3 separate regions of the Homo sapiens genome follow, and regions 1 and 3 are each linked to region 2. The links are contacts of gene promoters, found by promoter capture Hi-C in blood cells and fetal thymus (Javierre and others, 2016). All regions are on one chromosome and are shown on one strand. The core of a region is centred on a gene start or on the middle of the fragment in contact, and the rest is flanking DNA. Distances in the headings are between cores, read along the strand shown. Region 1 holds the start of KRTDAP (keratinocyte differentiation associated protein). Region 2 holds the start of PRODH2 (proline dehydrogenase 2). Region 3 overlaps ATP4A (ATPase H+/K+ transporting subunit alpha).

Region 1 (2,700 bases), core at 185-2,684, 320 kb before region 2:
GGGCAAGGGGCGCCGGAGCACTCACCTCAAAGAGGGCGTGCCAGTTCAGGAACTCATCAGCCTTAAACGCCTGAGGAGGAAGAGAGACAGCAGAAGCAGGTCAGCTCCAGGGGAGGCCAGAGCTTAGCCCCCAGCCCTCTGGAGAAGGTGAAGGAACCGTGGCAGCTTTGCAAGCTCTCTACCAAGGCGTTTATCCCCTCTGTGATGAGGGTATTCGTGGGGGTAGCACCAGAGAAGCGTACTCACAGATCGCAATTTGTCGATGTTCAGGAACGGGGTGTTAAAGGCCTAGGCAGAAACGCAGGGTGTTAGGAAAGTTGCTAAGAAGCAAAAAGAGAGAGAGGACAGACTCGTGGCTGGAGGGCCGGGGAAAACAGACGGCTTACCTCGGGTCGTGACGCATAATTCTCAATGGTGCTTTCTTCCTGGAAAAGGAGAGGGAGAAAAGGCGGCAGGGGGTCACGTGATGCCAGGGCCCTTGCCCACATCCCTGTCTGCCAGCTCTGCCTTCATCCACAGCCCAGTCCCCGAAAGAACGCAACCCATTCCCCACCATGGTCTCCGTTCCAGTCGCGCACATGGTTGGCGGATGTGCAGGGTGAGGAGGGGGAATTGGAGAATGGTACATGTAAGCAGTGTCACCATGGGCAGCAGGCAGAAAGCCTGGAGCCGAGCATTCCTCTCCGGAAAAGCTAGCTAGTGCTGTCCTGCAGTTGACTTAAGTCTAAGAGGTGGGGTGTTCTGGAGACACCCACGCTCAGTCCGTATAGCTGGATGGGAAAGATTTGCGAGCAGGTGGGAGCCCAGCTGCTGAGGTGACCCGCCTGCCTCTCACTGATCGAGGTTGCTTTGCTTTGTGGATTTATTGCCACCACTGTTGGAGGTTCCATAATCCCCCTCCATGGGGACCCCACCCCAGGCCTCAGTGTGTCCCATCGTGTCTTCCCCATGACAGAGCCCAACACGGAGCCCGCAGGCTGGATCCAGATGCTTAGATCTCATAAAAATTTGGTCATTTGTTTTTTGGTTTGAATTAGACATTTTGAATTAGTAAGAATTCATAAATTCATCCAGATTTCTAGTTTCCCCTGAAAAATGTAAAACTCTAGGCACATCTTCCCAATCCATGGCGTCAGGTGGGGTGAAAGCTGCCCTTTCAGACTGGGAAAGTTGGCCCCATTTCACCTCAGGCCCTGACAGCCCCCCCAGCTCAGTGACACCACTGGCTTGGTCCTTAGCAGCTGAGCCTGTGCCCCTGTCTTAGACTTTTAAATCCGGAATAGGCATCAGGATTCCTCTCTGGCTGAGGACTGGATGGTAAAGATTCTCACTGTGGCCTATGCTCCAGAGACAGCAGGGAGCCACCCGTCACCTGGGCACCACTCCCAGGGGCACAAATGAAGCAAAGAGGAGCTAAGCAGGGGTGTCTCCAGAACACCCCAGCCCCACTCCTCTTTGAGTTAAGTCAGCTGCAGGCAGAACTAGCTAGTTTTTTGCTTTGCTTCACCCTCTCCACCTGCTGCCCATGTGGATGCAGGCCTGGGTTTGGAGCTGCTCTGCCTCACATTGCCGTTCTCCAGTTCCCCCTCTTCCCCTGCACGTCCCCAGGCATGTGTGCAGCTGGAACGGAATGGGTGAACACTCTTGAGAGCCCATGGTGGAGATAGTCTGAACCCAGACCACCCACTCAGTCCCAAGGTTCAGTACACGAGCCTCCCCAACACACTTCACCATCCCTTCCAGAAAGAGGAGCATCTCTGTCCCAAATGTCTCCCCAGGGATGCTCTGTTCCCTCCTCCCTTCCTCAGAGCCCCAGTTTCTTCAGCCCCCATCAGAATCCAAAACTAAGAGCCACTTATCCAGGAATGGACAGGAGGTAGAGAGATGGAGGGGTAGGTGGGTAACACGTATAAGAATAAAAATGCAGGTGACGTGCTCACCTCAGGACCACCCAGGGTGGCTCCCTGGGCAGAGTGGAGCACCAGGAGGGAGAGGAGCACCACGGCAGGAAGGACCGGGATCTTCATGGCGTCAAGTTTGGGGTGCTCTGAGGCGGGGCCTCAGTGCTTGCTCTTTATATTGCCAAGGAGGCAGATGAGCACAGAAATGGGGTCCCCACCCCACTGACTCACCCCCAGATCTTGTCGCCCACCCCCGGGGCTCTGGGAGGGGGAGGCATGGACTGTTCCTCATTTGCCTCGGATTTCTCAATTCGCATTCTGCCCCAGGCACGTGGAAGGTAACACTGCAATGGGTCTCTTCATGCAGATGGGGCTGGGACAGAGACAGGTTGGACCTGTCCCTCCAAGGGATTGGCAGTGGTACCCAAGCAACCTCTCCTTTTGTCTTTGTCTCTTTTCGTTATATCCCTCATTCCTCTCTTAGAATTCAGGCTTTTTCTTTTCTTTTCTTTTCTTTTTTTTTGACAGGCTCTCACTCGTTGCCCAGACTGGAGTGCAGTGGTGTGATCACAGCTCACTGCAGCCTTGACCTCCCAGGCTCAAGCAATCCTCCCACCTCAGTCTCCCTAGTAGCTGGGACTAGAGGCACGCATCACCTCACCTAGCTAACTTTTTTATTTTCTTGTAGAGATGTTGCAGCTTTTTTTTTTTTTAATTTTCTCGTAGAGATGAAAATGTCTCGCCATGTTGCCCAAGCTGGCCTCAAACTCCTGGACTCAAGGGGTCCGCCTGCCTTGAC
Region 2 (2,700 bases), core at 102-2,601:
AAAGAAGGAAGGAAGGAGAGAGAGCAAAAGAGGAAGAGGAAGGAAGGAGAGAGAGAGAAAGAAAGAAAAAAAGATGGAGTAGGGTTGAAAGAGAATGTGGAGATAAAAAGGAATTAATGATTGAATGAACAAACTAAGACCCCATTGGCCTAATCAGAACTTACACCCAGCCAGCTCACACCCATGCAGCTGTGTTGACTGAGAACACACTGATGTACCTCCTTCTAATTGATAAACAGCTTCTATCCCAATCCCTCCTCTGAGAGCCTCCAGCCTCCAGGCTCCTCCCTGAGAACCCAGATGACCCTGATTCCATCCATTTCAACCATGCCTGGGAGCTACAGCTGCACTTCTGCTGGCTGTTCCAAGCCTGGAGGTGGCCGTAGCATTTTGAACATCTGGCGTGCGGTGTGGCCGCATCTAAGTCCAAGGCACTCTGTCCCCGACAGTCCCGCTTGAGATCCTTACCTGCCCAGAGTCCATAGCTTCAGCCAGCCTCTCGGGGCTCAGCTCCAAGGAGGCTCCTGGCCTTCTGACCCACGAGGCTAGCTCCTTCTGAAATGGGGTGGTAGGCGGGGTGGTGAGGGGAGCCCGATGGGCAGCCGCGCCCTCCCCGCACCCCCGTCTTTGCACTCCTTACACAGAGCCGAGTACTGGTCAGCGCCGTCACCTTCAGCTGCATGAGGCTGGCCTCAGCCAGGCTGGGGGGCTCCAGGAGGCCCCGTGACAGGTCCACACACCGCAGCATAGCACCGAGGTTCCCCTCATACCACGCCTCACTGCCCAGCCAGCAGGTGTCAGGGCCCGAACAGCAAAGCCCCTTCCTGCGTCCTCCCAGCCTCCCTGGGCCCTGGCTCCCTACTCACCCACTCTTGGCAGCAGAGTCCGGCTCCTCCTCAGTGGGCACTGCCAGCAGTGGTCGGAGGCTGAGGGTCCGCAGCTGCTGCACGCAGCCCTTCACCTCCTCTGCTGTCTCACCAGCCACAAACTGCCCATAGACGGATGCTCGGAGAAATGCGCCTGAGAGCCGGGAGCCCAGGAGTCGCCGAGACCAGGCCTGGAGCTGGGTGACAGGGAGCGAGGGCTCAGCGCCAGGCTATGAGGAGCCTCCAGGCTGGTCCTCAGGATCACTGCTCACCAACAGCCCGTGAGTGACGAGTGGGGGCCAGGCACACAGCCGGAGAACCAGCAAGGCCCGTGTCAGCTCTCCTGTGCCCTTAAGGTGGAAGGCCCCGCCATCAAAGCTCAGGGACTGCCAGCCCCTGGAGGGGGGACCAGCTTGGGAACAGAGCACGTAACAGGTCCGGAGCATCCTGGGTCCCTGGCTGCCTCCACACCAGGGAAGGTTCTCTGGAGGCAGCAAGTTCACCAACTGCCCCTTGCCCAGACCAGGGGCAGTGACTGATTAACTGGGCAAAGCCTCAGGATCACAGGCTCCTTGGGGGCAATTAATTATTAACAAATGGGGACAGAGTTCAGAGTAACGGAAACGGGAGGTGAACCCCAGTAACAGCCCCCAAGAATGCTCAGCACAACAGCCTGCACTTATTAGGTAACCACCATGTGCTGGGGAAAGCAGGGGCTCCGGAGCAAGGATCCCTGGGCTCAGGACACCGGGCTTTGTGATCCAGGACAGGCTACTTAATCACTTTTGTGGCAATTGCTTCCTCTTAAAATTGGAAACGCTGTAGTGTTATTGAATACATTTGAAAATACGGTTCTCACGTTTGTAATCCCAACACTTTGGGAGGCCAAGACCGAGGAGTTTGAGACTACCCTGGGCGACATAGTGAGACCCCATCTCTACAAAAAATACAAAAATTAACTGTGTGTGGTGGCACACACCTGTGGTCCTAGCTACTCAGGAGGCCGAGGAAGGTGGATCTCTTGAGCCTGGGAGGTCAAGGGTGCAGTGAGCTGTGATTGTGCCACTGCACTCCACCCTGGGTGACAAAGTGAGACTCTGTCGCCAAAAAAAGAAAAAAGAAAAGACAAATAACCTATATAACCCAGCTGTTCCATGCTAAGTACATATCCTAGAGACCTTAAACATGGACAGCAGGAAACATGTACAGGAAAGAATGTTCAGAGGAGCAGTGTCTGAACTACCCAAATGTCCATCAAAAGGAGAATGGATACATATATGGTGGTGTAGTTATGCAATGGAATACTATACAGTAATGAAAAAGAATGGATACTGATACACACAACTGTGTGGCTGAATCTCACAATGTCAAGTGAAAGAAGCCAGACACCAAACAGGGCAAGCTGTATTATTCTTTTTTTTTTTTTTTTTTTTTTTTTTTTGAGACACAGTTTCACTCTTGTTGCCCAGGCTAGAGTGCAATGGCACAATCTCAGCTCACTGCAACCTTCACCCCCCGGGTTCAAGCGATTCTCTTGCCTCAGCTTCCAGAGTAGCTGGGATTACAGGCATGTGCCACCACGCCCCACTAATTTTGTATTTTTAGTAGAGACAGGGTTTCTCCATGTTGGTCAGACTGGTCTTGAACTCCCGACCTCAGGTGATCTGCCCGCCTCAGCCTTCCAAAGTGCTGGGATTACAGGCATGAGCCACTGTGGCTGGTCTATACTTTTCAATAAATATAAAAGCAAGGAAAGTGAAACTGCAGTAAAATGTTGGGAATACATGCGTGGGTGGTCAAACTATGAGGACAAGAAAAGTAAGGACATGATTAT
Region 3 (2,861 bases), core at 288-2,787, 260 kb before region 2:
CCTCAGTTCTATGGCCCTCAGATCAGATCCCAGCCTGAGCCTTCTCAGGGTGGAGTGGAGAGACAGCTGCAGCCAAGAAGCAGAGCAGTGGGGCCCCCAGCTTGGACATTGTCCTGGATGCCCCCCTCCACCCTCAGCCTTCCTTGGTCCACTGAAGCCGGCTCCCCGCCTTTCTCTGAGGGGGATGTGTCAGAAGTTTTGAATGTCATGTTTAAGCTCCACTTTGATGTACACCCTCCCCACTCAGGAAGATGCTCCCCATCCTTGGTGTTCCCAGTGGGGTACCCCAGGGAGTAGGATAGCACCATTGCCCCTCCTCCTCCACCAGGCCGTTGAAGTTCCACCTGATTTTTTTTAAGCTTAGGCCTAGGAAAGCTCACTATGACCATCTCGATGTTTCCAGAGGGAGCATTTGCCTTCAGACGGCAGCTGCCATCTAGGCCACTCTTCCTCATTGTTTGGAGTAAAGACAGGGTCCATGGGTCTCTTGGGAGCTGGAAGTGATTGATCACCTTGACTTTGATGTAGAAAGGAAGTAGATGGGGCAGTCTATCTGGGTGGACTTGTGACAAGGTCACTTTCTCCCACACTTCCATGCCCCACATAGCTCTTCACACATATTGAGACAAGTGTAGGATGCAAAATTACCAACTGGAATAATCCCAGCTTACATGGGGTTCAGGGAGAGAGACTGGAGTGGCTGGGCCTGAGTTGGCAGAGGACGGTGAAGCCTGGGCGGTTGGACTGTGGGGAGCCAGGCTTCAGGTGATCGGGGTTATGATGGGAAAACCCCGGGTTATGGGGACCCAGAGGAGCCGCCTGGCCTGCCGTGGAAGCAGTGCGGGCTCCCCTGAGCAGAGGACATGTGAGCTGAGACCTAAAGAATGAGTGATTGGGGCAAGGCAGAGGTAATGGTCTTGAGGTCAGAGAGGGGGCCTGTTTTTCCCAAGGGAACATAACTGGTTGGAATGAGTTCAAGGGGACTTGTAAGACTACAGAAGCTGGCAGGGGTCAGATCACAGGAGGCTTTGGGAACCAAGGAGAGCTCTAGGCAGAGGAAGGACAGGGTCAGATTTGGCTTTAGGAAGCTCTGCATGGCTGTTGTCTGAAATGGGAAAGCTGAGGCCACGAGGCCAGGGCTGGACCAGGGCAGGGCTTTGTGGGGTTAGGAGAGTGACTAGAAGCCAAGCCCAGGTGTTGGTGATCAGTGGCTGTGTGTATTTATTTACCGGCAGGGGGCGCTAACAGGTAAGGGAGGAGCAAAGAGTTCCAGGATAACTGGAGTTTGGGGCTTGTAAGCCCGAGGGCTCACCACGTTTCCAAGGGAGAAGGGACCACACTGATGGGACAGTGGGACTATCAGATTGGGTCAGTGCATGGGTACAGGCATGGGGGGTGATGAAGAGGCCAGTGTAGGTCACCAACACTGGGGGAAGCTGGGGACAGAGGTGGGTCTCACTGCAGAAACAACTGAAGCCATGGGGGACTGGGGGGCTGTGGTCACAAGGAAGGAGAAGCCCAGGCCCTAGCCAGAGAAAGCCACATAAGAAAGAGGAAGAGAGGTGAACAGAGGGGCTGGGAAAGGAGCGGCAGAGATGGGAGGTAGGGGGATGGGGTTAACCTTTCAGGTGAGGGGTGTGAGGAGGGGACCTCCAGGAGTTGTTCAGGAACTGGCCATTGCCGGGACAGAGGAGTAAGCAGGTAGGCTCAGAAAGGAGACACCGCTGGGGGGTGGGGGATGCTTGATGTGGAAATGACTTGGGCCCCCTTGTGTCTGGGAGCCTCCAGGAGGGAGAAGGGTGCTGAGAACAGAGAAAGCCCAGAGGTGGTAGGGGGTGCCTATCGCCACGGCCCAGCTTGCGTTTAGATGCCATGACCCTGGGCAAAGGAATAGGAATCATTTCCCCAAGGCAGGTTTATTGAGGACCTACTATGTGCCAGGCTGTGTACTAGGCACTGGAGGTGCAGCCCTGGATAAACAGCCCCCATGTACAGGACTGTGGGAGATCACAAGCACTAATGAGAGACGCTGAGGACAGTGCCTGGCACCAGATACAGCACAGTCAGCATGAGCTGGTTTTATTACCATCGCCCAGGACACAAGCGTGTCTTTAACGAAGGGCCCTCAGGCAGCCGTCCAGCCTGGACTGGAGTCCTAAGAACAGAAACACCCTCCAGAAGCGGTCAGCTGTACTCCCTGTCAGAGCCCCACCGCCACCACAGGTGGCGGCTTTCCCGAGGCCAGCCCAGAGGACTGCCCAGGCGCTGCTGCTCCAGGAGGTGCGAACCTTGGGAATGGGGGAGGGGAGTGGGCAGGTCCCTCCAAGTTTGGGGTGCCGTGGGCTACAGAAGCAGATACTGGTGGGGCTGGGACTCTTGGTTGCTCAGATATCTTGGTGGCTGTCCAGAGGGTCCCACGAGCCCTGCCCCCACCTGCTGTGGCAGTTGCAGGGATGCTTGAAGGCAGTCGTCCCTCTAATAGTAGAGTTCCTGGTCCCACCAGCCTGGGAGAGAGAGGGAGAAAGGAGACTCAGTGCTGGGGGTGCCACTTAGGCAGGGCCAGGGGCTCAGAGGTCAGTGCTGGTTGCTATGGAGGGTCAAGGGCTTAGAGGCCAAGTGTTGAGGATCAAAGGTGGGTGCAGCTGCTCAAACGTTTCAGTCCCCTGCCCCCAGGCTCCCAGTCTCCACACTCACTCCCTGGGCAACAGCGAACTCCAAGCTTCCGGATCTCATCATAGACGAAGATGAGGATGCCGTAGGGCAGGGGGACCAGCCACCACTGGAACCTGAAGGCACATGGCAAGGTGAAGGCCATCCCAGGCCTGTGCCCTACAGCCCCCTCCCTGTCCTTGCCCCTCACA

Evidence for each region. Contacts are between HindIII fragments. The CHiCAGO score rates a contact against its expected background, and 5 or more counts as called.
Region 1: a contact is called between a fragment that was not itself captured here and the fragment with the promoter of PRODH2 in region 2, in 1 of 17 cell types (M0 macrophages). The highest score is 5.3, in M0 macrophages.
Region 3: a fragment that was not itself captured here is called in contact with the fragment with the promoter of PRODH2 in region 2 in 1 of 17 cell types (M0 macrophages); the score reaches 5.6 in M0 macrophages.

Annotation. Positions count from the first base shown.
Region 1 is chr19:35,488,416-35,491,115 of GRCh38, forward strand. It overlaps KRTDAP (keratinocyte differentiation associated protein), which reads right to left and starts at 2,049. Exons shown (of 6, transcript NM_207392.3): 1 at 1,941-2,049; 2 at 387-425; 3 at 247-288; 4 at 26-70. The coding sequence starts at 2,027. The HindIII fragment of the contact is 3,143 bases long and covers 1-2,700 here.
Region 2 is chr19:35,811,494-35,814,193 of GRCh38, forward strand. PRODH2 (proline dehydrogenase 2) reads right to left here and starts at 1,352. Exons shown (of 10, transcript NM_021232.2): 1 at 1,139-1,352; 2 at 867-1,063; 3 at 641-779; 4 at 469-555. The coding sequence starts at 1,312. The HindIII fragment of the contact is 7,636 bases long and covers 1-2,700 here.
Region 3 is chr19:35,548,140-35,551,000 of GRCh38, forward strand. ATP4A (ATPase H+/K+ transporting subunit alpha) reads right to left here. Exons shown (of 22, transcript NM_000704.3): 21 at 2,695-2,786; 22 at 1,892-2,504. The coding sequence ends at 2,476. Among named protein-coding and RNA genes, the nearest start is that of TMEM147-AS1, 3.5 kb to the left of the region's middle. The HindIII fragment of the contact is 2,360 bases long and covers 358-2,717 here.